6 separate regions of the Homo sapiens genome follow, and regions 2, 3, 4, 5 and 6 are each linked to region 1. The links are contacts of gene promoters, found by promoter capture Hi-C in human tissues and cell types (Jung and others, 2019). All regions are on one chromosome and are shown on one strand. Each heading gives the region's core, a stretch centred on a gene start or on the middle of the fragment in contact. The rest is flanking DNA. Distances are from core to core; before and after follow the strand shown.

What was found. Contacts are between HindIII fragments. The study calls those that stand out against the background at their distance.
Region 2: a fragment that was not itself captured here is called in contact with the fragment with the promoter of SYN3 in region 1 in 5 of the 25 tissues and cell types used here (heart left ventricle, hippocampus, lymphoblastoid cells and 2 more).
Region 3: a fragment that was not itself captured here is called in contact with the fragment with the promoter of SYN3 in region 1 in 2 of the 25 tissues and cell types used here (IMR-90 fibroblasts and lymphoblastoid cells).
Region 4: a contact is called between a fragment that was not itself captured here and the fragment with the promoter of SYN3 in region 1, in 3 of the 25 tissues and cell types used here (adrenal gland, bladder and mesendoderm cells).
Region 5: a fragment that was not itself captured here is called in contact with the fragment with the promoter of SYN3 in region 1 in 2 of the 25 tissues and cell types used here (IMR-90 fibroblasts and spleen).
Region 6: a contact is called between a fragment that was not itself captured here and the fragment with the promoter of SYN3 in region 1, in 4 of the 25 tissues and cell types used here (H1 embryonic stem cells, liver, mesendoderm cells and 1 more).

What each region holds. Positions count from the first base shown.
Region 1 is chr22:33,055,831-33,060,681 of GRCh38, forward strand. It overlaps SYN3 (synapsin III), which reads right to left and starts at 2,551. Exons shown (of 14, transcript NM_003490.4): 1 at 2,462-2,551. The HindIII fragment of the contact is 13,516 bases long and covers 1-4,851 here.
Region 2 is chr22:33,172,625-33,177,475 of GRCh38, forward strand. It overlaps a transcript of LARGE1 not described here. Among named protein-coding and RNA genes, the nearest start is that of LARGE1-AS2, 11 kb to the left of the region's middle. The HindIII fragment of the contact is 8,863 bases long and covers 1-4,851 here.
Region 3 is chr22:32,936,709-32,941,559 of GRCh38, forward strand. The region is part of intron 3 of SYN3 (synapsin III); the gene reads right to left. Among named protein-coding and RNA genes, the nearest start is that of SYN3, 120 kb to the right of the region's middle. The HindIII fragment of the contact is 4,443 bases long and covers 1-4,226 here.
Region 4 is chr22:33,152,270-33,157,120 of GRCh38, forward strand. It overlaps a transcript of LARGE1 not described here. Among named protein-coding and RNA genes, the nearest start is that of LARGE1-AS2, 9.6 kb to the right of the region's middle. The HindIII fragment of the contact is 4,788 bases long and covers 496-4,851 here.
Region 5 is chr22:32,979,740-32,984,590 of GRCh38, forward strand. SYN3 (synapsin III) reads right to left here. Exons shown (of 14, transcript NM_003490.4): 3 at 906-963. Among named protein-coding and RNA genes, the nearest start is that of SYN3, 76 kb to the right of the region's middle. The HindIII fragment of the contact is 4,515 bases long and covers 513-4,851 here.
Region 6 is chr22:33,121,319-33,126,169 of GRCh38, forward strand. It overlaps a transcript of LARGE1 not described here. Among named protein-coding and RNA genes, the nearest start is that of LINC01640, 15 kb to the left of the region's middle. The HindIII fragment of the contact is 9,037 bases long and covers 1-4,851 here.

The DNA of each region.
Region 1 (4,851 bases), core at 1,301-3,800:
TCTCCTCTAATAGACTGAGCTTTCTCCCCATCACCTAGGATAGCGCCTACTCCTTAAGAGACACTCAATACACATTGATTGATTAATTAGTGGATGAATGAATGATTAATCAATCAATCCACCAATGAAAGCACTTTGGAAAGTGTAACAAATCATAGAGTTGTGAGTGATTGTTATTATTATAATTATTATTTTGTGGCAAAAGAACATCAACTTGGTTGGGTTTTGGAAGAGACTGGGTTTACTATAAAATGAGAATAAAAGTACCTAAGTTGGAGTATTATTGGACAACTAGAAGAGAATGTATATACATAATAGACACTCAAAAAAGGGAAGCAGTAGTCTTCGTGGCTATTATTATTAAAAGCTCCTCACAAAAGCTGACTCAACTCGAATTCCAAAACTCATTTTCAGGTGCAGTCATGAAACTTAAAGGTGAGAGAAATGAATACTTTTAAGATATCTACTATGCACCAGGCACAGTACAAAGCACTACTTCATTTGTGAGGTAGTGTAGTGGATACCGTGGGGAAATGCTCAACTCCCCCTCCAAGACCAAGACACTCATGACTTCCCCATGTCCAGCTGCCAGAGTGTTGGTTACCCCAGCTCCCAGGTGAGTCCCTAGTCAGGAACTGTCCTGCTGAAGGGACATCCTAGCTCCCTCCCTAGGACCAGCCTGCACCCACTGGCTGATCAACATTAAGCTTCAAAGGCCTCGTCTCTTTGTCTCATGGGAGGGATTGAGACCTCTCTTGCACTGCACCATAGATCAACATCTCCCTCTGCCCAGTTCTGCTTCCCTTATCTGCACAAAAATCTCAGAAGCGCCAAGTCTTTTTCCAGGGAACCCAAACCATGACAGGTGAGTACAATGATTTCCTTTTAAATCAGAAAAAGAAGGTTCATGAAGGTTGCTAATGTCCCCAAAGCCTATGGCTAAAGTGACTTTCTGGTCTGATTTCCCAGCGAGCCCTTGTTCTTTCTACTACACCAATCTACACACAGCCTTGCCTCCAATGGCTGAGACTGGATCTCTGTGAAACAGAAAGGGGAGCCCAGGCAGAGGGGAAGGGCACACAGAGGGCTTGAAGATGAGAAAAGAAGAGCAGAGGCACCCTTCAGAGGCCTGATGACAAGACTGAGGTCACAGGCTCCAGAAACAATATCAAAATGATGTGCAGGCTGCAGAAGCAAGCATTACACGGGCAGCATCTCTTTGCCTGAATCCATGTCCAGAAGCCAGGGAGCAGGGCTCCCGGGCAGAGGGGGCTCCCTTAAGCAGGGAAGAGTATTTGCAGCCAAGGACCAGAAAACAACTACAACTTACCAGCTTTCTGATGCTCCGGCCTCCATCCATTGTCCCCAGAGCTGCCAGAGGGACCTGATCACTGATCAGAATTCTTCCACGGCCCTCCTTCATTCCAGGATAAAATTCTAAATATTCTAAGGCTGCACTTTAAGGTCTGTGCAGGTTTTAGCTTCCTGCCATGTCGAGAGCTCATTTCCTACCTACAGCAAGACCCGGTCCTACTCCATTATCTGCTGTAGAATTATCTGATGTGCTAGGTCAGGACACCGGACCTTTTCAGTTTCTTTACCTTTACACAAGAAAACCCACCTGGAATTCCTGCTCCCTATCAACTCACAGTCCCAACACACTTTTCAGCCTGGCAAAACCTCCGACTTCCAGTCAATGCTCACCTCCTCTCTGAAACCTTCCTGGCTTCCTCACCGTCCTCTTCTCCATCTCGAGTCTTCCGCACTACCCTGCACTGCAATTGCTCCTCCTACTGTCCCTCTTAGCCCCAGAAGCTCCCCAAAGGCCATTCTTCATGCTGCTAGGGCTTGGCACAGTTCCTGGCACTCAGAAAAAGCCAAGTAAGTGCTGGATAGATACACGAGGTGCTGTATCCATAGCTATTCTCTGCTTCTAGCTTGGCCAGGAAACCACTCTGAAATTTCATCCTGCCCCCAGGATGACTGGAAATCGGAAATGGCATGACAAACCTGACCTCCCAAACCCAAGGCAACAGGTCATGAGGGGTCTGGGGACCTAAGGCAGGTCCTAGGAGCCGGCGCAGAGCAGAGGTCCGGCCGCTGCGGTTCCTGGTTTCCCGCAAGCTCTTCCCCGGGCCGGGCGCTGGGTGGAGGCAGTCTTAGGATCCACAGTCTTGCGCGCCCCCGGCTCCCGGGCCCGGCAGACGGCCCCCGCACGCCGATCTGTCTGTCCCAGGGACCGGCCCAGGGCCCCGGCAGCGGCAGCCTGGGGAGACACCGTGGTGCGCGGCTCCTTGCCTCCCTCCCTGCCCCTCCGTGCGCCCGCATCCCGCGGACACAGAGCCGGAGCTCCAGGGGACGCAGCCCGACGCGAGAACGCACCAGCAGCCCCCGCTCGAGGTGGGGTCTCCCGGCTGTCAGAAACCCCACAAAGTCTACTTTGCGGCGCCGCGCCGCTTACCGTGCGAGCCGCCAGGAACTCGGCGCCCGGTGGTGCCTCGGCGCGGCGCCCGCCAGTCGATCCGCTCCGGGTCCCGGGAGCTCAGCCTCTGCCCCTCAACGCGCGCGAGCGCCCCCGCCCGGCGGCCCGGCCTCCCCGCGCCGCGGCGCCCCATTGGCTCGGGCAACGAGGCCCCCGGACGGCCCCGCCCACCCGCGCCCACTCCCTCGCCCACGCCTCTCCCCAACGCCTTGCTGGGTTCACCTCTCCAGGCAGGGAAAGTTGCTTCTAGACTCTGAGCTCTCACCGGACTCAGGAGCCCAGTTAGCTAATAATTCTGGGTCCCAGGAGTGTCTAGACGCCCCTCGGGGAGTGCGAAGAATGCAGTGTCCTTGGAATCCACCTTTGGGAAAGTCAGCTGACCTCCCGGACCTCAGGTGGCACCTCAGAGAAACCAGGGCCCCTTGTCAGGAAATGTCCCAGGTTGTGGGCTAGGCCCTAGGGCCAGGATGCAACAGGGAACAAGACAAAGTCTATCGTCCTCGTGGACTTTGCATGGGGTGGAGGTGGGGGTAGGTTATATACAACAAACGAAAAAAACAAGAGAATGTCGGCTGGGTGCCTGTGGCTCACGCCTGTAATCCCAGCACTTTGGGAGGCCGAGGCAGGTGAATCACGAGGTCGGGAGTTCAAGACCAGCCTGGCCAAGATGATAAAACCCCGTCTCTACTAAAAATACAAAAATTAGCTGGGCATGGTGGCCCTCACCTGTAGTCCTAGCTACTCGGGAGGCTGAGGCAGAATTGCTTGGACCCGGGAGGTGGAAGTTACAGTAAGCCGAGTTAGAGCCACTGCACTCCAGCCTGGGCAACAGAGCTAGATGCCGTCTCCAAAAAAAAGAAAAGAAAAAGAAAGGGGTCTAGGACTGCTATACCTAGGGTGGTCTCCGGGCCGCTTGTGATATTGGATACTTGGAGGACAAAAACGATTCCAGGGCTGAAGCAAGAGCATTGCTGACAGAGGGGTCGGCCGATGCATGGTTCTGAAGCTGGAACTGGCCCCCAGGGTGGCTGAGTGAGGTGAGCAAGGGGAGAGTGGGTTACAGCCAGAGAGGTAGACTAGTGTGGAATCACCATCACCCAGAACCTTGTAGGCCACCGTGAGGGTCAGGGCTTTGTCATATCAATCTGGAGGGAACAATTCAGGCAAGAGATTATGGTGATGAAGACCAGGGTGGTGACAGCAAGATACGGAAAAGGTGGACCTCCTGCAATGTGTGTCAAAAGTAGCACAGGAAGGCTTGATGATGGATTAGGCTGGATTTAGGGGATGCTATGGTTTAAATATGTTCCCCAAAGTTCATATCTTGGAAACTTAATCCCCAATGCAACAGTGTTGAGAGGTGGGACCTTTAAGAGGTGATTCCATTAATGCCAGGAGTGGCCCTCTCCCCACCCCTCTGCTGCTCTCTTGTTCTGCCTTGTGCCATGGGGTGACTCAGCATGAAGGCCCTTACCAGATGCAGCCCCTCAATCTTGGACTTCCCAGCCTCCAGAGCCATGAGCTAAATAAATTGTTGTTCCTTATAAATTACCCAGTCTGTGATATTCTGTTATATTGGCACAAAATAGACTATGACAGGGGTTGACGTAAAGGGATGAAAGAAGAAAATCTCCTAGGTGTTTAGCTTGAGCCACTGTGGAGTAATGGTACTATTTCCAAGATCGGGAAGGTTCTTACCCAGCATCTTCCACTTACTGCATGAGCGTTAGTACATGATCTCAGTAACTAAGAGGGAGTGACTCTAACCTCAGTAACTAAGAGGGCATAAGACTAGCTGAAGGATCACAAACTTTAATACCGACGTGGCCGGGTAGTCATGTACTAAGTGAGGTTGGCAGGGTATAATAGAAAGGAGGGATGGGGCTTGTGACAGACTGAGGTATGCACACCTGCCTAAGGTGACAGTCACTGCTCAGCTCCAACTGATTTTTGCCATATGTGAATGGAGACCCACCCAGAGTTGCCAGATGTTCTGTTTTTTGTTTGTTTGTTTTTTATCGAGACTGAGTCCTGCTCTGTCACCCAGGCTAGAGTGCAGTGGTGCGATCTCAGCTCACCGCAACCTCCGCCTCCCTGGTTCAAGCAATTCTCCTGCCTCCCAAGCAGCTGGAATTACAGGCGCCCACCACCACGTCTGGCTAATTTGTGTATTTTTAGTAGAGACAGGGTTTCACCATGTTGGCCAGACTGGTCTCGAACTTCTAACCTCGTGATCTGCCCACCTTGGCCTCCCAAAGTGCTGGGATTATAGGCGTGAGCCACCACACCAGACCCTGATTTTTATTAAGAGGCCAGAAATTCAGATTATGTTAAATCTCTGGTTTTTTTAAATGCTGGTAATTAACTAC
Region 2 (4,851 bases), core at 1,568-4,067, 120 kb after region 1:
CTCTAGTATATTTCACCTCCTAAGAATAATGTGCTAAGTATCATGTGATAAGATTATAGTGCTCTATTCGAGAACTTCATGAAGCATACACAAGTATCAATAGTCAAATTGATCAAGTGGAAGAGAGGATATCAGAGATTGAAGATCAACATAATGAAATAAAGTGAGAAGACAAGATTAGAGAAAAAAGAGTAAAAAGAAATGAACAAAGCCTCCAAGAAATACGGGGCTATGTGAAAAGACCAAATCTACATTTGATTGGTGTGCCTGAAAGTGACAGGGAGAATGGAACCAAGTTGGAAAACACACATCAGGGTATTATCCAGGAGAATTTCCCCAACCTAGCAATACAGGCCAACATTCAAATTCAGGAAACACAGAAAACACCATAAAGATATTCCTCGAGAAGAGCAACCCCAAGACACATAATCATCAGATTCACCAAGGTTGGAATGAAGGAAAAAATGTTAAAGGCACCCAGAGAGAAAGGTCGGGTTGCCCACAAAGAGAAGCCCATTCGATTAACAGCAGATCTCTCTGCAGAAACCCTACAAGCCAGAAGAGAGTGAGGGCCAATATTCAACATTCTTAAAGGAAAGAATTTTCAACCCAGAATTTCATATAGAACGAAACTAAGCTTCATAAGCAAAGGAGAAATAAAATACAGACAAGCAAATGCTGAGAGATTGTCACCACCAAGCCTGCCTTACAAAAGCTCCTGAAGGAAGCATTAAACATGAAAAGCAATAAACGGTACCAGCCACTGCAAAAACAGACCAAATTGTAAAGATCATCGACACTATGAAGAAACTGCATCAACTAGCAGGCAAAATACCACAATGACAAGATCAAATTCACACATAGCAATATTAACCTTAAATGTAAATGGACTAAATGCCCCAATTAAAAGACACAGATGACCAAATTAGATAAAGAGTGAAGACTCATCATGCTGTATTCAGGAGACCCATCTCACATGCAAAGACACATATAAGCTCAAAATAAAGGGAAGGAGGAAGATTTACTGAGCAAATAGAAAGAAAAAAAAAAAGCAGGGGTTGCAATCCTAGTCTCTGATAAAACAGACTTTAAACCAACAAATATCAAAAGAGACACAGAAGGCCATTACATAATGGTAAAGGGATCAATGCAACAAGAAGAGCTAACTATCCTAAATATATATGCACCCAATACAAGAGCACCCAGATTCATAAAGCAAGTTCTTAGAGGCCTACAAAGAAACTTAGACTCCCACACAATAATAATGGGAGATTTTAACACCCCACTGTCAATATTAGACAGATCAATGAGACAGAAGATCAACATGAATATTCAGGACATGAACTCAGCTCTGGACCAACTGGACCTAATAGACATCTAGACAACTCTCCACCCCAAATCAACAGAATATAGATTCTTCTCAGCACCACAATGCACTTATTCTAAAATTGACCACATAATTGGTAGTAAAATACTCCTTAGCAAATGCAGAAGAACGGAAATCATAACAAACAGGCTCTCTGACCACAGTGCAATCAAATTAGAACTCAGGATTAAGAAACTCACCCAAAACCACACAACTACATGAAAACTGAACAACCTGCTCTTGAATAACTACTGGGTAAATAATGAAATAAAGGCAGAAATAAAGATGTTCTTTGAAACCAATGAGAACAAAGACACAACATACCAGAATCTCTGAGACATTTAAAGCAGTGTGTAGAGGTAAATTTATAGCACTAAATGCCCACATGAGAGAGCAGGAAAGATCTAAAATCGACATCCTAATATCACAGTTAAAAGAACTAGAGAAGCAAGAGCAAACAAATTCAAAAGCTAGCAGAAGACAAGAAATAATTAAGATCAGAGCAGAACCAAAGGAGATAGAGGCATGAAAAACCCTTCAAAAAATCAATGAATCCAGCAGCTGCTTTTTTGAAAAGATCAACAACAAAATAGATTGACCATTAGCCAGACTAATAAAGAAGGAAAGAGAGAAGAATCAAATAGACACAATAAAAATGAGAAAGGGAATATCACCACGGATCCCATAGAAATGCAAACTACCATCAGAGAATACTATAAACACCTCTACGCAAGTAAACTACAAAATCTAGGAGAAATGGATAAATTCCTGGACACATACACCCTCCCAAGACTAAACCAGGAAGAAGTTGAATCCCTGAATAGACTAATAGCAAGTTCTGAAATTGGGGCCGTAATGAATAGCCTACCAACCAAAAAATGTCCGGATTCACAGCTGAATTGTACCAGAGGTACAAAGAGGAGCTGGTACCATTCCTTCTAAAGCTATTCCAAACAATAGAAAAAGAGGGAATCCTCCCTAACTCATTTTATGAGGCCAACATCATCCTGATACCAAAACCTGGCAGAGACACAACAAAAAAAGAAAATTTCAGGCCAATATCCCTGAGGAACATCGATGTGAAAATCCTCAATAAAATACTGGCAAACCGAATCCAGCAGCACATCAAAAAGCTAATCCACCATGATCAAGTCGGCTTCACCCCTGGGATGCAAAGCTGGTTCAACATCCACAAATCAATGGGCAAAAACTGGAAGCATTCCCTTTGAAAACTGGCACAAGACAAGGATGCCCTCTCTCACCACTCCTATTCAATATAGTATTGGAAGTTCTGGCCAGGATGGAAGGGAAGGGAAGGGAAGGGAGAGAGAAAGAAATAAAGGGTATTCAAATAGGAAAAGAGGAACTCAAATTGTCTCTGTTTGCAGATGACATGATTATATACTTAGAAAACCCCATCATCTCAGCCCAAAATCTCCTTAAGCTGATAAGCAACTTCAGCAAAGTCTCAGGATACAAAATCAATGTGCAAAAATCACAAGCATTCCTATACACCAATAGCAGACAAGCAGAGAGCCAAATCATGAGTGAACTCCCATTCACAATTGCTACAAAGAGAATAAATTCCTAGGAATAGAACTTAAAAGGGATGTGAAGGACCTCTTCAAGGAGAACTACAAACCACTGCTCAATGAAATAAAAGAGAACACAAACAAACGGAAGAACATTCCATGCTCATGGATAGGAAGAATCAATATCGTGAAAATAGCCATACTGCCCAAAGTAATATATAGATTCAATGCTATCCCCATCAAGTTACCATTGACTTTTTTCACAGAATTGGAAAAAACTACTTTAAATTTCAAATAAACCAAAAAAGAGCCCGCATTACCAAGACAATCCTAAGCAAAAAGAACAAAGCTGGAGGCATCACACTACCTGACTTCAAACTATACTACAGGGCTACAGTAACCAAAACAGCATGGTACTGGTACCAAAACAGATACATAGACCAATGGAACAGAACAGAGGCTGCAGAAATAACACCACACATCTACAACCATCTGATCTTTGACCAACCTGACAAAAACAAGCAATGGGGAAAGGATTCCCTATTTAATAAATGATGCTGGGAAAACTGACTAGTCATATGCAGAAAACTGAAAATGGACCCCTTCCTTACACCTTATACAAAAACTAACTCAAGATGGATGAAAGACTTAAATGTAAGACCTAAAACCATAAAAACCCTAGATGAAAACCTAGGCAATATCATTCAGGACATAGGCATGGGCAAAGACTTCATGACCAAAAGACCAAAAGCAATGGCAACAAAAGTCAAAATTGACAAATGGGATCTAATGAAGCTAAAGAGCTTCTGCACAGCAAAAGAAACTATCACCAGAGTGAACAGGCAACCTACAGAATGGGAGAAAATTTTTGCACTCTATCCATATGACAAAGGGCTAATATCCAGAATCTGCAAAGAATTTAAACAAATTTACAAGAAAAAAAACCAAACAACCCCATCAAAAAGTGGGCAAAGGATATGAATAGAGACTTTTCAAAAGAAGGCATTTATGCAGCCAACAAACTTATGACAAAATGCTCATCATCACTGGTCATTAGAGAAATGCAAATCAAAATCATAATGAGATACCACCTCACTCCAGTTAGAATGGCAATCATTAAAAGGTCAGGAAACAACAGATGCTGGAGAGGAAGTGGAGAAATAGGAATACTTTTACACTGTTGATGGGAGCATAAATTAGTTCAACCATTGTGGAAGACAGTGTGGCGATTCCTCAAGGATCTAGAATTAGAAATAGCATTTGATCCAGCAATCTCATTACTGGATATATACCCAAAGGATTATAAATCATTCTACTATAAAGACACATGTACATGTATGTTTATTGTGGCACTGTTCACAATAGCAAAAACTTGGAACTAACCCTAACGTCCATTAGTGATAGACTGGATAAAGAAAATGTGGCACACATACACCATGGAATACTATGCAGCCATAAAAAAGGATGAGTTCATGTCCTTTGCAGGAACATGGATGAAGCTGGAAACTGTCATTCTCAGCAAACTAACACAAGGAAAGAAAACCAATCATCGCATGTTCTCACTTGTAAGTGGGAGTTGAACAATGAGAACACACGGACACAGGGAGAGGAACATCACACACTGGGCCTGTCGGGGCTGGGGGACTAGGGGAGGGATAGCATTAGGAGAAATACCTAATGTAGATGATGGGTTGATGGGTGCAGCAAACCCCCATGGCACGTGTATACGTATGTAACAAACCTGCACGTTCTGCACATGTACCCCAGAACTTAAAATATAATAATAAAAAATTATAATTTATGAAGAAAGATTATAGTGCCTTATTAAATAAAACAATAGATATGGATATTTAATATATTAGAGAGAACATTTATTCTTTTAATTATTCATTTAACAAACATGCATGGCATATCAGTTCAATGTCAAAATCTACCCTCTAAATCTAGATGCAG
Region 3 (4,851 bases), core at 755-3,254, 120 kb before region 1:
TTTCATAGTGGGACTGAATTATCCCTGGCCAACAGCATGCTCTGGATCTAGGACGACCAGTTTGTCCCGGTTTGCCTTGGGCTTTCTCAGCTTTAAAACTAAAAGTCCCATTTCTCAGAAACTCTTCAATCCCAGTTTTACAGTGAAAGTCCCATGTCTTGGAAAACTCCTTAATCCCAGGCAAACTAGAATAATCAATCACTCCATGTAGATCTGTCCCAAGAAAAGCTTAAAACCAAGTCTTGAATGGATCAAGTTTATTACAAGTAACTTAACTGCATCTCAGAAAAAACTAAACCACTGTTTAAAGGAATCTAACAAAACCCAGCACCCAACACATCACATTCACAATGTAAAAGTAGTGACATTCAATCACAAATTACGAGGAATGCAAAGAAGCAGAAGAATATGACCCACAACAAGGAGAAATCAACGAATAGAAACAGACGTGGAAATGGAGAGATGATGGGAAGAGCAGAAATGGAAGTTAAAACAACTGTTATAAAGAGGTTCTCAAGAATGTAGATGGAAACAATACAATGGGAGAGAAAGAAACATATTTTAAAAATTAAAAATGAAACTTGTAGAGATAAAAATTATAATATCTGAAATAGAAAATGCACCGCTAGGCTTAACAACAGATTAGACACTTGTATCAGTCTGTTCTACACTGCTATCAACTACCTGAGCCTAGGTAGTCTATAAAGAAAAGAGATTTAATCAGCTCACAGTTGTGTGGGCTGAACAGACTTCTGCTTCTGGGGAGGTGTCAAGAAACTTACAATCATGGTGGAAGGCCAAGGGGGAAGCAAGCACTATCCTCATATGGCAGAGAAGCAGGAGAGAGAGAGAGCAAAGGGGGAAGTGCTACACACTTTTAATCAACCAGATTTTGTGAGAACTCTATAATGAGGACAGCAAGGCGGATGGTGCTAAATCATTAGAAACCACCCCCATGATCCAGGCACCTTTTGCCAGGCCCCACCTCCAACAGCGGGGATTACAATTCAACATGAGATTTAGGTGGGGCACAGAGCCAAACCATATCATGCTGCTGAAAAAAATGCTAGTGAACTTGAAGAGAAAACAATAAAAACAACCCAAAATGAAGCACAGAGACAAAAATACACACAAAAAAAAGCAAAGAAAGAAAAAGAGAGCAGAACCTCAGTGAGTTATGGGATAATATTAAATAGTCTAATATATGAGTAATTAAAGTCTCAGTAAGAGAAGAGGTAGGGACAGAAAATTTAAAACAAAATGGCCAAAGTTTTTCTACATTTAATGAAAACTGGACCTAACAAGTTCAATGAATCATAAGCAGAAGAAACAAAGAAAATAAACAGCAGGACATAGAATAACCAACTTATTAAAAACCAGTGGTGAAGAGAAAATCTTCAAAGCAGCCAAAGGGGGGAAAATACATTTTATATAAAGAGAAACAAAGATAAGAATGATAAACAGCTTCTTGTGAGAAAATAGAAAACCAGAAGATAGTAGTAAATCTTCCTTAAAGAGCTAAAAGAAAAAGAAAACCAGGCTGGGCGCGGTGGCTCACGCCTGTAATCCCAGCACTTTGGGAGGCCGAGGCGGGTGGATCACAAGGTCAGGAGATCAAGACCATCCTGGCAAACACGGTGAAACCCTGTCTCTACTAAAAAATACAAAAAAATTAGCCAGGCGTGGTGGCGGGTGTCTGTAGTTCCAGCTACTCGGGAGGCTGAGACAGGAGAATCGCATGAACCCGGGAGGCAGAGCTTGCAGTGAGCAGCAATCGCGCCACTGCACTCCAGCCTGGGCAACAGAGTGAGACTCTGTCTCAGAAAAAAAAAAAAAAGAAAAAGAAAAAGGAAAAGAAAAAGAAAACCAACCAAAAAACAACTGTCGGTATGGAATATTATACCCAGTAAAATTATCTTTTAAAAGTGAAGGCATAGGCCAGGCACAGTGGCTCATGTTTGTAATCCCAGCACTTTGGGAGGCCAAGACGGGTGGATAACCTGAGGTCAGGAGTTCAAGACGAGCCTGGCCAACGTGGCAAAACCTCGTCTCTACTAAAAAGACAAAAAATCAACAAGGTGTGGTGGCACGCACCTGTAATCCCAGCCACTTGGGATGCTGAGGCACAAGAATCACTTGAACATGGGATGCGGAGGTTGCAATGAGCAGAGACTGCACCACTGCACTTCGGCCTGGACAGCAGGGCAAGGCTTTGTCTCAAAAAAAAAAAAAAAAAAGTGAAGGCACAATAAAGACTTTTCCAGACAAAGAAAAATTGAATTTATTATAAGTCCAAAATGTGTTAAAGGAAGCTCTTCAGACAGAAGGACAATGATACCAGATGGAAATTTGTACCAATACAAAATGAAGAGTTCTAGATATGGTAAATATGTGGATAAATACAAAACCCTTATTTTTCAGTTTAAAAATATCCTATAAAAGATTATTAACTGTTTAAAGCAAAACATTGCAGGCATCATGGGAGTTTATAACCTGTAGAAGTAAAATGAACAACAACAAGGACACAAAGAAAGGGAATGAGAAATGGAAATATACTGCTGAAAGGTTCTCACAGTATATGTGAAGTGGAATAACACTATTTGAAGGTAAATGATGATGAGGTAAGGATGTACATTTTAAACCATAGAACAGTGCCTTGAAAAGGAAATATAGATAAAATAAATAAAGTATACAAATTTTAAGTTTATAGCTTGATGAATTTTCATTTATTTATGCTGTGTAATCAATCCTCAGATCAAGATATAGATCATTTCTAGAACCCCTGAATCCTCCCTCATCCTCATTCCAGCTGATCTCACCCCCACACCATGATGCTACCATTTTAATGTCTTCTATCTCATAGATTAGTTTTACATGTTCGTGAACTTGCTATAAATGAAATCTCACAGTACATGCACTTTGGTATTTGCCTTCTTTCATATCTGTGATTCATCCATGCTGCTGTGGTTAGCAGCAGTCATTCTTTTTTAATTTCTGTGTAGTATTTCATTGTCTGAATATTCAATAATGTGTTTATCCATTCTGCTGATGGTAGACACTTTAACTATTTCTATTCATCAGCTACTAAGAAAAGAGCTGCTATGCACCTTCTTATACATCTCTTTTGGTGGACATATACATTCATTTTCCTGGGTTATATACCTAGAAGTGGAATTGCTGGGTCAGAGGATAGGCATACAGGATTTAGAAGATACAGATGGAGAATTTTCCTCAGTGGTTTTGCCAATTTACATACCGTTAGCAATATGAGAATTACAGTTGCTCTGTGTCTTTTTCAACACTTAGTATTGTCAAAGTTTTTAATTTTAGCCATTCTTCAGGTGGGTTGTGTAGTAATAGTACATTGTAGTTTTAGTTTACATTTCTCTGATGATTAATGATACTGACCACTTTTTCATGTGCTAATTAACAATTTAGGTAATTTCATTTGGTGAAGTGCCTGTTCAAGTTTTTTGTTCACATTTGTATTCTTGTTTGCATTTATCTTATTAATTTATAAAGGTATCTCAAAATATATTGTAGATATGAGTTCTTTGCTGGATATATTCATTTGGAAATTTCTTCTTCCATTCTGTGGCTTGTCTCTTAACTTTCTTAGTTTTTTAACGAAGAATATATTTATGCACACACATATGTATATATGAAGTACAATTTAGTATTTTTTTTACAGTTAGTGTATCTATTGTCTTTAGCTTAAAAAATGTTTGCCTATCCCAAGGTCATGTAGGCACTCTCAGTGTTTCCTGCTAGAAGCTTCTCTGTTGAGTATTTCACATTTACGTCTGTAATCCACCTAGAATTTTTAAATATATACTATGTGAGGTAGGACCGAAGGTTCAATTTTTTTCATATGGTTATTCATATACTTTGGTACCATTTATTGAAATGAGCACTCTTTCTCAATAGAATTGCATTGGTACCTTTGCCAACCACCAAGTCACTTCATAGGTGGCAGTCTATTTCTAAATTCTCTATTTTATTCTATTTATCAATTTGTCTATCCTGTTTCAAGTTGTCACAATTAATGTAGCTTTACAGTGAGTCATGACATCAGATAGTATAATATTCTAAGACAGAAGTGACCCAAACAAGCCCCAGTGATGACAGGAGCAAAGGCAAGATAGGATGACCATCCTCTGTCTCCTTAACCTACTGATCAGAAAAAAAGTTGTCTTATTTGCTCACTGCAAAATACACATGGACACTGGTCAATCATATGACCTCAAAGGCTCTGTCCTGAATAAACTGATTAGATGTTTCCCTAGCAATATGATTGACTAGACAGAATGTGTTCTACTATTCCTTGCTTTGCAACCAACCCACCATTGCAGCCAGACCTCTCAAAGACCTCCTCAACGAAACCCTCACTTATCTTAAAGGTTAAAAAAAAAGTTTTATTAATTAAAAACAAAAAAATCCACAATTCTTAACAGCTTGTTAGTATGGTCAGCTGGTTGAGAGGGTAATAAATGGAGGAGAAAGCACATCTATTCTTTTAGATCATCACCTATACTGAGGACCGGCACTTATGGCAACTCACTATTGACATGCTCACACACCTCTAAAGGTTTCTCTTTGCTTTATAACGAACTTTCACACTTCAGCATATTTCTAAACATTCTTTAACATTTTAACTTCTTTTCCACCTTGTTGAAAGCTTGAGCCCACTCTCTCATTTGTATTATTTTTTGCGCATTTGTTGCTAGCCAGTGCATTTTTAAAAATTTCTTTCCCGGGCCGGTTCCAAGATGGCTGAATAGGAACAGCTCCAGTCTACAGCTCCCAGCATGAACAACGCAGAAGATGGGTGATTTCTGCATTTCCAACTGA
Region 4 (4,851 bases), core at 1,640-4,139, 97 kb after region 1:
TGACATTTTGATTGAGCCCAGTGGCATGCTGGCTGGTGCTGGCTGGTGCTGACCAAAACTGCACCTCTTCTCTGGCACAGGCAGTGCTTCAAAGAATGTTTCCACTCCTTGCCTCATGACATGTGGGAAAAGAGTGCCTACTGGCCCGAGCATTGTGCTGGCCATAAGATTCCCACTGTTCCCAAAACGCTAGCTCACATTGGATCACACCAGCTGAGAGGTCTTTTCAGTTCTAATCATAAGTTGACTTCTCACCTATTTTTACTGAGTATAACATTTTTTGGATTTTTTATTTTTATTATATTTAAATTTTTTAATGGTTAAATTTTAAATTTTTGTGGCTACATAATAGGTGTATATATTTATGGGGTACATGAGATATTTTGGTATACATGTGCAATGCATGATAATCGCAGCATAGAAAATTTAATAATTTCTTGGTTATCAAAGGATCTGGTTTCTTTTTATTTTGCAGTACTTTGAATTTGTCACTTTATTTTCACCATATAAATATGGCTTTCATATTACACATATGTTAGTTCTTTAGATTATGTCCCGCATATAGTTTGTGCTCTATTTTGTTGTTTTTTATTTTGTTATTATTTTTTATCTCTGCTTCAATTTAGTTGTTTTCCATTTTCCTGATGGTAAGTCCACTAGTTTGTCTTCTGCTGTGTTTACTTTGCTATATTCTAAGAGTCTTTTATTTTCCAGTGCTAGATTATCAGCTTGGTTTTTACTCTGATTATAATTCTCTGTTCAAATATTTCAATTTCATCAACTTTGTCCAGCAGTTTTCCTATTTTATTTTCCGTATTTATCACAATTAATTGGAATTCCTTGTCTGCTACCTTAAACTCTGGATCATCTCTTGGTCTATCTTCATTGACTTTTAAATTTTTTCATTTATTTTTTATTTTATGTTTTATTTAAATTTTTTTAGGCATGAAGTTTCATTATGTTGCCCAGGCTGCACTTAAACTCCTGGGCTCAAGTGATCCTCCCACCTCAGGCTCCTGAATAGCTGAAATTACAGACACGTGCCACAGCACCAAGCTTTCACTGACTTTTTATTTCTTGATTATCAATAACTTTTTCCTGTTTCTTTGAATATCTGTTCATCTTTTTACTGTATGTTCAATATTGTAGGTGACAGGCTGTGAGTGATATGGATTATATTTCTGAAGAGTTTATATTTGTTTGGACAGTAGTTAAATTATCAATGAATTGTATCCATCATTTCAAACCTTTCTTAAGGTTTGTTGTGGGTGAGTTGAAATTTCCCGTCTTCATGGAATATCTTTTCTACCTGCAGCATAGTACTTACTCATGGTGGGGTGTGGGGAGTGTCTTTCTGCAACTTAAATTAAGGTCTCTCCATTTTCTCAGACACATTTACTTAACACTCTGTGATTCCTGAAATTTCTCTTTAGTTTGCATTATCTTACCAACAATTCTCTGTAGCCCACTATATCCTTGAGCTTTATTTGCATAGTTTATAAGTGAATTAGGAACTTCAGGTGAATATTTGCAGATATTTGGGTTTCTCTCTCTGTGACTTCCTACTCTTTGATACTTGCCCTTCAAATCCCAGGGGACTGGCGGTCCCAAATTTTAATCTCTGTTTCAAAAAACCAGTGAAACCATCATTCTCTAAGTTTGGTTGTATTACACCAGGATGTTGTTTAGGAAATTCTCATAAGCAGAAATCTGGGACCAATGTGGGGTTCACTTCTTATCCTCTTCTGCCAAGGTCATATTCCTCTATTGGTTGCTACCCAGTGCCTACAAAATGTTGCTTAATGTATTTTGTTTATCTGTTATAATTGTTTATGACAGAAGGTTAAATCCAATGCTAGCTAATCTCTAATGGCCAGACTTTGGACTTCTTGTTATATGGAAAAAAAAAAAAAAGTAAACTCCTCTTTTATTAAGCTACTGAAGTCAGGTTTACATTTTTGTTTTTGTTTTGTTGTTGTTATTGTTTTTGAGACAGAGTCTCACTCTGTTGCCCAGGTTGGAGTGCAGTGGCATGAACTCAGCTCACTGAAACCTTTACCTTCCAGGTTCAGGCGATTCTCCTGCCTCAGCCTCCCAAGTACCTGAGATTACAGGTGCCTGCCATCATGCCTGGCTAATTTTTGTATTTTTGTAGACATAGGGTTTCACAATATTGGCCAGGCTGGTCTCGAACTCCTGACCTAAGGTGATCTACTTGCTGCAGCCTCCTAAAGTGTTAGGATTACAGGTGTGAGCCACTGCGCCCAGCCAGGTTTATGTTTAATACAGGCAGAAACAACCTTATATTTTCTTCTGTGACTACGCTTTCTCTGAGATCCATTATCTTTTTCACTTCTATAATTCCTCATCACTCTTTCTTCCTTTCCTTCTTCTATTTAAGAATCATAATAAGTTAGTCTTTTTTTTTCTTGGGTTAAATGGAAAATATTTATTTATAAAGATGGATAAGACTAGGCCTCATAGATAGACATATATGTAAGATACAGATTTGATATGGTTTGGCTGTGTCTCCACCAAAATCTCATCTTGAATTGTAACTGCCACAGTTCCCATGTGTCATGGGAGGAACCCAGTGGGAGGTAATTGAATCATGGTGGCAGGTCTTTCCCATGCTGTTCTTGTGATGGTGAATACGTCTCATGAGATCCGATGGTTTTAAAAATGGGAGTTTCCCTGCACAAGCTTCTTCTTTTGTCTGCTGCCATGTGAGATGTGCCTTTCACCTTCCACCATGATTGTGAGGCCTCCCCAGCCACGTGGAACTGTAAGTCCAATAAACCTCTTTCTTTTGTAAATGGCCCAGTCTAGGTATGTCTTTGTCAGCAGTGGTACCAATTTACTGTATCAGAAAATGGACTAATACAGTAAATTAGTACCAAGAGTGGGGTGCTGCTGAAAAGATACCCAAAAATGTGGACTTTGGAACATTTTTACAGGTAGAGGTACCTGTTACATTTTAACAGGTAGAGGTTGGAACACTTTGGAGGGCTCAGAAGAAGAGAGGAAAATGTGGGAAAGTCTGGAACTCCCTAGAGACTTGGTAAATGGCTTGACCAAAATGCTGATAATGATATGGACAATGAAATCCAGGCTGAGGTGGTCTCAGATGGAGATGAGGAACTTGTTGGGAATTGGAGCAAAAATGACTCTTGTTACATTTTAGCACAGAGACTGGTGGCATTTTGCCCCTTTCCTAGAGATCTGTGGAACTTTGAACTTGAGAGAGATGATCTAGGGTTTCTGGTGGAAGAAATTTCTAAGCATCAAGGCATTCAAGAGGTGACTTGGTTGCTGTTAAAGGCATTCCGTTTTAAAAGGGAAACAGAGCATAAAAGTTTGGAAAATTTTCAACCTGACAATGCGATAGAAAATAAAAACCCATTTTCTGAGGAGAAATTCAAGGAGGCTGCAGAAATTTGCATAAGTAATGAGAAGCCAAATGTTAATCACCAAGACAAAGGAGAAAATGTCTCCAGGGCATGTCAGAGACTTTTGAGGCAGACCCTCCCATCAAGGGCCAAAGGTTTAGGAGGGAAAAATGGTTTCATGTGCCAGGCCCAGGGTCCCTTTGCTGTGTGCTGTCTAGGAACTTGGTGCCTTGCATCCCAGCCACTCCAGCTGTGACTAAAAGGGGCCAAGGTACAGCTCGGGCTGTTGCTTCAGAGGGTGGAAGCCCCAACCAAGCCTTGCATCTTCCATGTAGTGTTGAGCCTGTGGGTGCACAGAAGTCAAAAAATGAAGTTTGGGAACCTCTGCCTAGATTTCAGAGGATGTATGGAAACGTCTGGATGCCCAGGCAGAAGTTTGCTGCAGGGGTGGGGTCCTCATGGAGAACCTCTGCTAGGGCAGTGTGGAAGGGACATGAGGGTCAGAGTCCCCACACAGAGTCCCTATTGGGGCACTGCCTAGTGGAGCTGTGAGAAGAGGGCCCAGCATCCTCCAGATCCCAGAACGGTAGATCCACCAACAGCTTGCACTGTGCTTCTGGAAAAACCACAGACACTCAACACCAGCCCATGAAAGCAGCTGGTGGGGCAGAATGGGGAAAGGGGGCTATACCCTGCAAAGCCATAGAGGCAGAGCTGCCCAAGGCTGTGGGAGCCCACCTCTTACATTAATGTTATCTGGATGTGAGACATGGAGTCAAAGGAGATTATTTTTGAGCTTTAAGGTTTGACTGCTCCACTGGATTTCTGACTTGCTTGGTGCCTGTATCACCTTTGTTTTGGACAATTTCTCCCATTTGGAATGGTTGTATTTACCCAATGCCTGTAACCCCATTGTATCTAGGAGGTAACTATCTTGCTTTTGATTTTAAAGACTTTTAGGTGGAAGGGACTTGCCTTGTCTTTGATGTGACTTTGGGCTGTGGACTTTTAAGTTAATGCTGAAATGAGTTAAGACTTTGGGGAAATATTGGGAAGGCATGATTGGTTTTGAAATGTGGGGACATGAGATTTGGTGGGGGCAGGGGTAGAATGATATGGTTTGGCTGTGTCCCCACCAAAATTTCATCTTGAATTGTAACTCCCGCAATTCCAATGTGTTGTGGGAGGAACCCAGTGGGAGGTAATTGAATCATGGTGGCAGGTCTTTCCTGTGCTGTTATCATGATATCAAATAAGTCTTACGAGATCTGATGGTTTTAAAAATGGGAGTCTCCCTGCACGAGCACCCTTCTCTTGTCTGCCACCATGTGAGACACGCCTTTCACCTTCTGCCGTGATTGTGAGGCCTCTACAGCCACATGGAACTGTAAGTCCAATAAACCTTTCTTTTGCAAATTGCCCAGTCTCAAGTATGTCTTTATCAGCAGGATGAAAATGGACT
Region 5 (4,851 bases), core at 1,520-4,019, 76 kb before region 1:
TCGTTTGATCCTCACAGCACCCTATGAACACAGGCTGATGCTATTATTGCCCCAGTTGGACAGATGAAGAAATTGAACTGGAGGGAGTGTAAGTATTGCTCAACCAAGGTCACAAGGTTAGTAAGGGGCGGTGTTAGGATTCAAACCTGGAGTATGGCTCCAGAACCTATGCTCAAATGTGCTCTCCTAAGGCTGAGCACAGTGTTTGGCAGAGAGGAGGTCCTCGCGGAACGAACAGGAGAAAGCTTTGATCTGGAGCCAGGAGACCACACCTTCCACTCCTGATTCTGCCACTGCCTCCCTACACAGCCCTAAAAAAATCTGTGTTTCTTTCCACATAAAATGAGGGACCTGGATATTGATATTAATAGCAATAGCAAGAGATAGTATTTGCAATTCTGGTCCCTTCTGAGGTTTTAAATAATTTAATCCCCACAATGATATAAGGAAATCAAGGCAGAGAGAGATTAAGTCACCTACCCAAAACCTAGAAAATGAGAGAGGCAGGATTCAAGGCCCTTCATTATGTTCCTAAACTATGCTCTCTAGCCCAGGTGGCTGCAAGGAGATGCCCCAGGGGCCAAAAGGAACGGTATAGAACAGACAGAAGTTGGGCTCCACCTGCCCATTTCCATCAGAGCAGCTCTACGTGTCTCTCTTTTGTAGAATGAGTTCCTATTTGACATTTCCCTTGAAGAAAGGGTCTCTGCTAAAACATAAAAGGTTGGAAACCACTGGCCCAAACAATTCTGAAATTTAATGAGACTCCCAAGTATAAGCTTGGACTTTTCTGGTAATCTTGGCTCATTATGACCACATAAGATGGGGACCAAGATTGCATGTAAGAACAGCCCCAGCGGCAGAAAAGGTCAGTTGACAGTGCTAAAGACACAGCTCCCACCTACCTGCTCCACTCGGATCTCAATCTCTCCATTCACCTTCTTCCCATGGAAATACTTCGACCTGTAAAGGGGAAGAAATCAGCTGAGTAAGGATGCAGGCTGTTTTACTCTTTTCTCCCTTCTCCCAAAGGCCTTACCCCAGAGGTGCATATTGAGACACATCCTCAGCCATCCTACTGTCTCCTCCCACCTTCACTACTGATTTTCTCAGTCTTTTTTTTTTTTCTTTTGAGACGGAGTTTCACTCTTGTTGCCTAGGCTAGAGTGCAATGGCCTAGTCTCGGCTCACTACAACCTCTGCCTCCCAGGTTCAAGCGATTCTCCTGCCTCAGCCTCCCGAGTAGCTGGGATTACAGGTGCCTGCCATCACATCCGGCTATTTTTTTTATTTTTAGTAGAGATGAGGTTTCACCATGTCGGTCAGGCTGGTATCAAACTCCTGACCTCAGGCAATCCACCCACCTCGCCCTCCCAAAGTGCTGGGATTACAGGCGTGAGCCACCGCGCCTGGCCGATTTTCTCATTCTTTATAGGTGGTGTGTGGTAGAGGGGAGATGGTGGATAAGATTGGAGGCTCAAGTTCTAGTTCTGTCACGTCACTTGACCTCTCTGCATCTCAGTTTTAGCATCTGTAAAATAATGATATTAATAATTTTGCTACAGGCCGGGCGCTGTGGCTCACGCCTGTAATCCCAGCACTTTGGGAGGCCGAGGCAGGTGGATTGCCTGAGGTGAGGAGTTCGAGACCAGTCTGACCAACATGGAGAAACCCCATCTCTACTAAAAATACAAAATTAGCCAGGCATGGTGGCACATGCATGTAATCACAGCTACCCGGGAGGCTGAGGCAGGAGAATTGCTTGAACCCGGAAGGCAGAAGTTGCGGTGAGCCAAGATCACGCCACTGCACTCCAGCTGAGCAACAAGAGCGAAACTCAGTCTCAAACAATAATAATAATAATAATAATAATAATTGTGCTACATATTTCTAAGGGTTACTTTGAGGATTAAATAAGAAAAAGGATCCCACATAAAAAGGTCTGAAATGATGGCTATGCTGACTATCCTAATCTAATCATTATACGTTACATGTATCACAACACCAATACGTACCCCATAAATATGTAAATTATTATGTATCAATTTTAAAAGAATTAAAGGATGTTTATAGTGTTTTATCCATATTTTTCTTAAATTCATGATTTTCATCATGTTATCTTCACATATATGTTAATCCTGTCTCCCCTACCCTTTGAAGGCAAAACCACACATGGTTTATCTTGGTATCCTCCAACCCTCCAATTTAGTCTTCAGAAATATGTTGAATGTATAAAAGAATGATGATTGCTAGAAAGTGTGTAATTTAAAGACTTTAGAAAATACAGTTTTGTTTGATCCAGTTTCATTCTCAAGTATATATGTTTGTGTTCTTTTAACATTAAAAATGTTATGGCATTTTAACTCTCAACAAAAATCAATGTTTTAGTGACGCCCATTATCCAAATCTTCTAACTATTCAAAAAAGGGAATCCTACAAAAATAAATAATGCAGTATTGTTTTATTGAGTTATACCTATATGCCCCACATACTCCACCAAAGATTTATTATTGATCTATCCAGTCTCACCCATTTCTCTATTTTTCTATTTGTCTAATAAAGCAGTCCTCATTTGTTCCTTTGTCTATCTGCCATCCGTCCGTCCTTCCTTCCTTCTTTCCACAGACTTCCTTCTACATCCCTGCCTCTGTCTTCCCCATCATCAGTACATGACATCCCTATCTACCCATTGTTTAGACATCATCCCTACACTCACTGATTCTACATTTTAATTATTTCTCAAATTCATTTACCTGGTGATTTTTCTCCATAAGCACCCTAATCCTGACCTATGATTCATCTCTATACTGAGAGTCTCTTCATATTGTTTTCATACTATTTATTACAACAATAATTATAATTAGTAACTGTGTTTAATGTCTGTGTACCACTAAACTATACCACAGCTCCTTGAGGTCAGAAATAACCTATTGTATTCATCACTTTCTTCCTAACACCTACCAGAGTGCTTAACACATAGTAGGAAATTGATTAATATTTGTTGAATGAATACATGAGTGAATGGACTGATGAAAAAACACTTGTTGAGTATCAACTCTTGTGCTAGAAACTCTGCTATAGAGTTTAACCTACAGCCTTTCTCATTAACACTCACAACCACCACCACGAAGTAGATATCATTATTTCCAACTTACAGATGAAGAAACTGAAACCCAGAGAGACTAAATATTTTGCCTAAGGGATTTGAACCCAGGACTTCTAATTCCATATCTGTGCTTTTGCTCAACTCTGAAAAATAGCAGTGAAAATTGGGGTCTTTATAGGTTTGGATATCGTCTCACAAAAAGTAACAAAGTTTCCATTTTCTCTTTTTGATTATTGGTATGATGACACTAATAGTTCTTGGTGACTTGCTGTGAACTGAGCATTGTGTTAAGCATTTCCATAAACCTTCTCTGGGACGGAGACAGCTCTTTGCTTCCTAATACTCATTCTCCCCTTTTCCCACAGTAAGAGAGTTGACAGATTGGTACATAAAAATGTGTACCCCAAGTCTCCCATCAGCTGGATGCAGCCACATGATTTATTTCTAATGGATAATTTTTTAAGCATTAAACAACCTTCTTAGTCTCCTACTCTTTTCCTTGGAAGATGGATGTCATCACCCATTATTTTTCAGCCTTCCATTTGTGAAAGAATCCTTTCTACAAATTCACTAACTGCTTCAGCCTGTCTGCTTCCAAAGTCTCTCTACCTACTCTTAGCTGATGCTGGTGGAGTTAATCTCTTCCCAAAACTGACTGACAGCTCTGATATTAGCACCACTTTTTCTTACGTCCTGATGGGCTTAGATGTCAACTAGGCGGTAGTTTAGTAGGAAAGGAACTATTAGTATGACTCGAAAGCAAGATTTTGATTTTTTTTTTCTTTCAGCAATGGTCTTCAAATAAATACCCATGTGGACAGCCTCATGCAAAGAGAATCTTTTCATACAGTTTGTGAATTTTATCGTAATCCTTAAAGGTAGTATCAGCAAATTCCAGACACCAGGACAAGCCCATGTCTAGTATTTGAAGTGCCTGGGGCAAAGCGACAAATGGAAACCTATGGGTCATATGTCTAATATTTAAAATTGACAAAATCAAGCCAGCAAACATTTAAATAAAAGACATCTGTCCACTGGGCATGGTGGCTCATGCCTGTAATCCCAGCACTTTGGGAGGCTGAGGCAGGCGGATCACGAGGTCAGGAGTTGGAGTCCAGACTGGCCAACATAGTGAAACCCCATCTCTACTAAAAATACAAACAATTAGCCAGGAGTGGTGGTGGGCGCCTGTAATTCCAGCTGAGGCAGGAGAGGCTGAGGCAGGAGAATCGCTTGAACCTGGGAGGCAGAAGTTGCAGTGAGCCAAGATTGCGCCATTGTACTCCAACCTGGGCGACAAGAATGAAACTCCATCCAAAAAAAAAAAAAAAAAAGAAAAAGAAAAAGAAAAGAAAAAAGAAAAAAAGAGTCCCAAAGAGTCTGTCTTCCTTCCTTGGCAGATACAATTTCATAATGACCTTAAAGACTCAGAATGTAAACTTCTCAGAATTCTTTGCACTCTACCCAGCACGTGGCAGCACAAGGATTGCCAGCTCTTGGTTCTCAGACCTCACCCAAGATCTTCCTTAATTCCCCACCCACTCTCCTCTGCACCACTGAGGCTCCTGGTGCGGGTATGTGGATTGCCCAGACCACGTGGCCAAGCTTCATCTACTCCCTTCCCCTCCCCAAATGGTTGTCCTTTGGCCACCCCTTGGAAAATGGACCAAGGAATTGGCCTATATAGGCTCTGAAGTTGGGTTAAGGTCCCTTTGAGGAGGGAATTCTAGAGTTTGGGTACCCAG
Region 6 (4,851 bases), core at 1,151-3,650, 65 kb after region 1:
ACCCAAAGATGTCCTTTGTTTTTAGTCACATAGAGAGTGAAAGGTTTGGGACATGTTCCCAGCATTTCTTTTAGGGTTAAGAATGCCTGTTGTGAGGTTCTGTCCCAATTCAAAGGCTTGTGATCACACTCTTTTAGAGCTTTATAGAGTGGTTTTGATATGATCCCAAACCTGGGAATACAAATATGGCAGAATCTGGCCATTCCCAAAAAGGCACTTAACTGTTTCTTAGTCTGAGTGGGCTGGAGTGCCAGAATGGTCTCTTTCTATTCCTGGGCTAAGGTTTTTGTCCCAGGAATAAACACACATCTCAGATACTTCACCCTTTGGGCAGAAATTTGGGCCTTGTGGGGAGATACCCAGTACCCTTCTGTATTAGTCTGTTCTTACACTGCTAATGTGTGAGATATAAAGACATACCTGAGACTGGGTAATTTATAAAGAAAAGAGGTTTAATGAACTCACGGTTCCACATGGCTGGGGAGGCCTCACTCATGGCAGAAGGCAAATGAGAAGCAAAGTCATGTCTTACATGGCAGCAGGCAAGAGAGCTTGTGTAGGGGAACTCCCCTTTATAAAACCATCAGATCTCATAAGACTTATTCATTATCATGAAAACAGCATGGGAAAGACCCACCCCCATGGTTCAATTACTTCCCACCAGGTCCTTCCCATGACACGTGGGAATTATGGGAGCTACAATTCAAGATGAGATTTGGCTGGGGACACAGTCAAACCATATCACCTTGTTTTCCCAGAAAATTAAGGATCTGGATTGTGTTTCTGTCAGAGGATTTTAATCTTTCCCCTGAGTTATTTCTCTAATCTTGTCATAATTAACTGGCTTGACCACATACTTTTTCATGCCTTCTATTAAATGAGTTAGTATGTGATTTCTGCATTCAAGATCTTAGGAATTGATCTGGAACTGCCTCACCCCCCTCCACACAGTAAATGGTATGGCCTTGGTTACGAGTAGCCACTCCATCTGCATGTTCGTGGGCAGTATCTAGAGTCTTTTTTTCTTTTCTTTTCTTTTTCTTTTTTTTTTTTTTTTGAGACTGAGTTTCACTCTTGTCGCCCAGGCTGGAGTGCAATGGCGCTATCTCGGTTCACTGCAACCTCTGCCTCCCGGGTTCAAGCGATTCTCCTGCTTCAGCCTCCTGAATAGCTGGGATTACAGGTGCCTATCACCATGCCCAGATAATTATTGTGTTTTTAGTAGAGACGGGGTTTCTCCATGTTGGTCAGGCTGGTCTTGAACTCCTGACCTCAGGTGATCCATCCGCCTTGGCCTCCAAAATTGCTGGGATTACAGGCCTGAGCCACCGTGCCCAGCCTGTTTTGTTTTTTTCTATGGCAAAACAAGTGGATAATGATATTGGCATGTCATGCCACCTTAAATCAAAGGACATGGCCAATTTAACAAACTCCTGTACAAACTTCCCTGGATCCTCTGAAAACTGGCCACATTTTCTTGCATAAAGCCAAATTGGACATGGAAAAGGTACATATATTCTGATTTTTCCACCATCTCTGTCAACTACCTGCTGATACGGACACAGGTTTGATTTGAGGGGCTGATACGGGACCCTACTGCTGGTGGTACTGGTTGGGCTTGCTTCCTTGGGCAGCAGGGGGCATAGGCTGGGATCTGTTGGATAAGGGGGAGAAGTTCTTGATGACCTTGGAGTGGAATCCTGTGCTAGAGAACTGGTGGGAACCTTCTTAGAACTGAAGGACTGAGGAATCTCCAAGGCGGGCTTGTAGGCGTTCTAGCTGGAGCAGCTAGGAAGGGGTAATCCAGGATATCTGGGGTAGCTTCTTGGTGCCAGAGGTGTTATGAGCCAGACACATTTTACAGCTATCTCTTAGGTCAGGATCTTGGTAGAGGGCCATAAAGCCTGCACATAAGGAACTTCTCCCCATTTTCCTTTCTTTTTACAGAATAAATCTAATTGTAAAATAGCATTATAACATAAAGAGCCATTTCTAGGCCAAATTTGTTGATTCCCCAATTTGTATTCGACTCAGTGTTGCCATGGAAAATGAGGTTTTTTTCCTCTTTAAATCATCAGATTTGAATTTCCTCCACTTGCCTAAAAGACATCCCGGTGGCAAGGCCTATGGGATGCTCACTGCTGTCCCCATGTCTAGTAAGGATTTCTACAGGAGTTTTGTAGTTAGTCTAAGTCTAGCAAAAGCTTAGTCACATTTTCCTTTCAAATTTTCACTTTTTGCAAAGAAGGTGTAAGTATAGGTAGCAAAGCATTACAAAAGCCAATTATGAGCTATGAATGGGTAGTAGAATGACGAGAGTGAATTCTACAGAGAGCAATGAAAGCATCTTAGTTTGGGCAGAGAGGGGCTAAACAGAAAGTAAACACAGAAGGGAGGAAGGGAAGGGGTGAACAGCATTTCTCAAGGGGAGACCTTGGAAGCTCGGATTCACCACAGAACCTACTTGGCAATGGAGACAACTGTCTGCAGGAGCCAAAATGGTGCCAGCCAGGCTTGTGGAACTGGGTGAAGGCCTGCCTAGGTGACCCCCAGCTTGGGTGGGCTTGGCTGCTAGAGGGGAACAAGTGTGGAGATCAGCAACCTGGTAGGTCCCACATCAGGCGGTGCTCTGGCCACTTGCCTGTCCTCTTGGCTCCACTGCCTGCCAGGATAAATGACGGCTCTGGCCAGGCACGATGGCTCACGTCTGTAACCCCAACACTTTGGGAGGCCATAAGGGGGCGGATCACTTGAGGTCAGGAGCTCTAGACTAGCCTGTCCAACATGGTGGAACCCCATATCTGCTAAAAATACAAAAATTAGCCAGGCATGGTGGTGGGTGCCTGTAATATCAGCTACTCGAGCGGCTGAGGCAGGAGAATCACTTGAGGCAGGAGAATCCAGGAGGCGGAGGTTGCAGGTTGCAGTGAGCCAAGATCGCACCACTGCACTCCAGACTAGGCACCAGAACAAGACTCCATCTCAAAAGAAAAGAAAGACAGAAAGGGAGAAAGAGACAAAGAGACAAAGAAAGGAAAGAAGGAAGGAAGGAAGGAAGGAAGGAAGGGAGGAAGGAAAATGATGGCTCTGAAAAGAGCCTTTGGTTGATGTTACACCTCTCTGCAGTGTTAGCAGCTCTTTGGTATTACAGTCTTAGTGTTACTGCTCTTGCAGTTTTGATGACCAATTTCCTCACCATCTCTCGCTGTCTCACTGATCATTGCCTCTTGCTGTCTCTCTCACTGCTTGCTGTCTCTTGCCATCTCTCACTATCTCACCAACCATTATCTCTCACCATTGCCTCATCAATCACTGACCACCATCCTCTCTTCACTCCTGGCTGACTCATCACCGATGCAGGGCAGATTCTTGGCTTTGCTCAGGAAAGAACTCAAGAGCAAGGCTGGGCGTGGTGGCTCACACCTGTGATCCCAGCCCTTTGGGAAGCCCAGGCAGGAAGATTGCTTGAGCCCAGAAGTTCGAGACCAGCCTGGGCAACATAGCAAGATCCTGTCCCTACTTAAAAAAAGAATTCAAGAGCAGGCTGGTGATGAAAGAAAGCAGCTTTACTGAAGTGGCAGCAGTGTCAAGTCTCTGTGACTGCTCCTTGTGGAGCAAAGCTATCGCATAGGCAGTGAACTGAGTAACAACATATGGGTGGTTTGCGGTCATATTTATATCTACTTCTAATGACATGCTAATTAAGAGGCAGTTCTACTCAGAAATAGCTAGAAAATGGGTGATAACTCTCTGGGTATTGCCGTGGCAAAGGGTAGTAACTTCAGGCATCTCCACGTGTCGGTAAACTGTGGTAGTGTCTTATAGGGATGGGCAGCGAGAGCAACTGGAGGTGCTTTCAGGACCCCTTCCTGGTTTCTGCCAGTCTTCAGTCTGGTCTGGAGATGAGTCCCGCCTGCCTCCTACCTCATGTGGAGTTACTGACACAGGCATTCATTCAACAAATATTTTTTGAGAACTATAATCAGAATTTGGTTAGGTGCTGGGTACACATATGTGAAAAAAATTGACAAGATTACTACCAAGGAGGAATGGGAACACTTATTGAGCATCCTATATGTATCGTGCACTGTATTGAGGCTGTGAAGACGAGTACACATCCTGCTTTCAATTTTTTTTTTTTTTTTGAGACAGAGTTTCACTCTTGTTGCCCAGACTGGAGTGCAATGGCATGATCTCGGCTCACTGCAACCTCTGCCTCCTGTGTTCAAGCAATTCTCGTACTTCAGCCTCCTGAGTAGCTGGGACTATAGGCACATGTCACCATGTCCGGCTAATTTTTGTATTTTTAATAGAGATGGAGTTTCACCATGTTGGCCAAGATGATCTCGATCTCCTGACCTCGTGATCCACTCGACTTGGCCTCCCAAAGTCCTGGGATTACAGGTGTGAGTCACTGTGCCAGGCCTATTTCTTTTTTAAATACATTTTTATTTTATTTTATTTAGTCACCCAGGCTGGAGTGCAGTGGTGCAATCTTGACTTGCTGTAACTTCCGCTTCCTGGGTTCAAGCGATTCTCGTGCCTCAGCTTCCTGAGCAGCTAGGACCACAGGCACCTGCCACCACACTCGGCAAATTTTTGTATTTTTAATAGAGACGGGGTTTCACTGTGTTGGCGAGGCTGGTCTCGAATTCCTGACTTTCGACAATCCACCCGACTCAGCCTCTCAAAGTGCTGGGATTACAGGCGTGAGCCACAGCGCCCGGCTGGAATTTGGATTATTTCTATAACCTTGAGATAAGAAATCCTAGGGCTGGGGTTTGCTTAATGGGCACACAATATATGAAGAGCTGTTATATAAAATGAAGAATGGTCATGTGCTTATGTGGC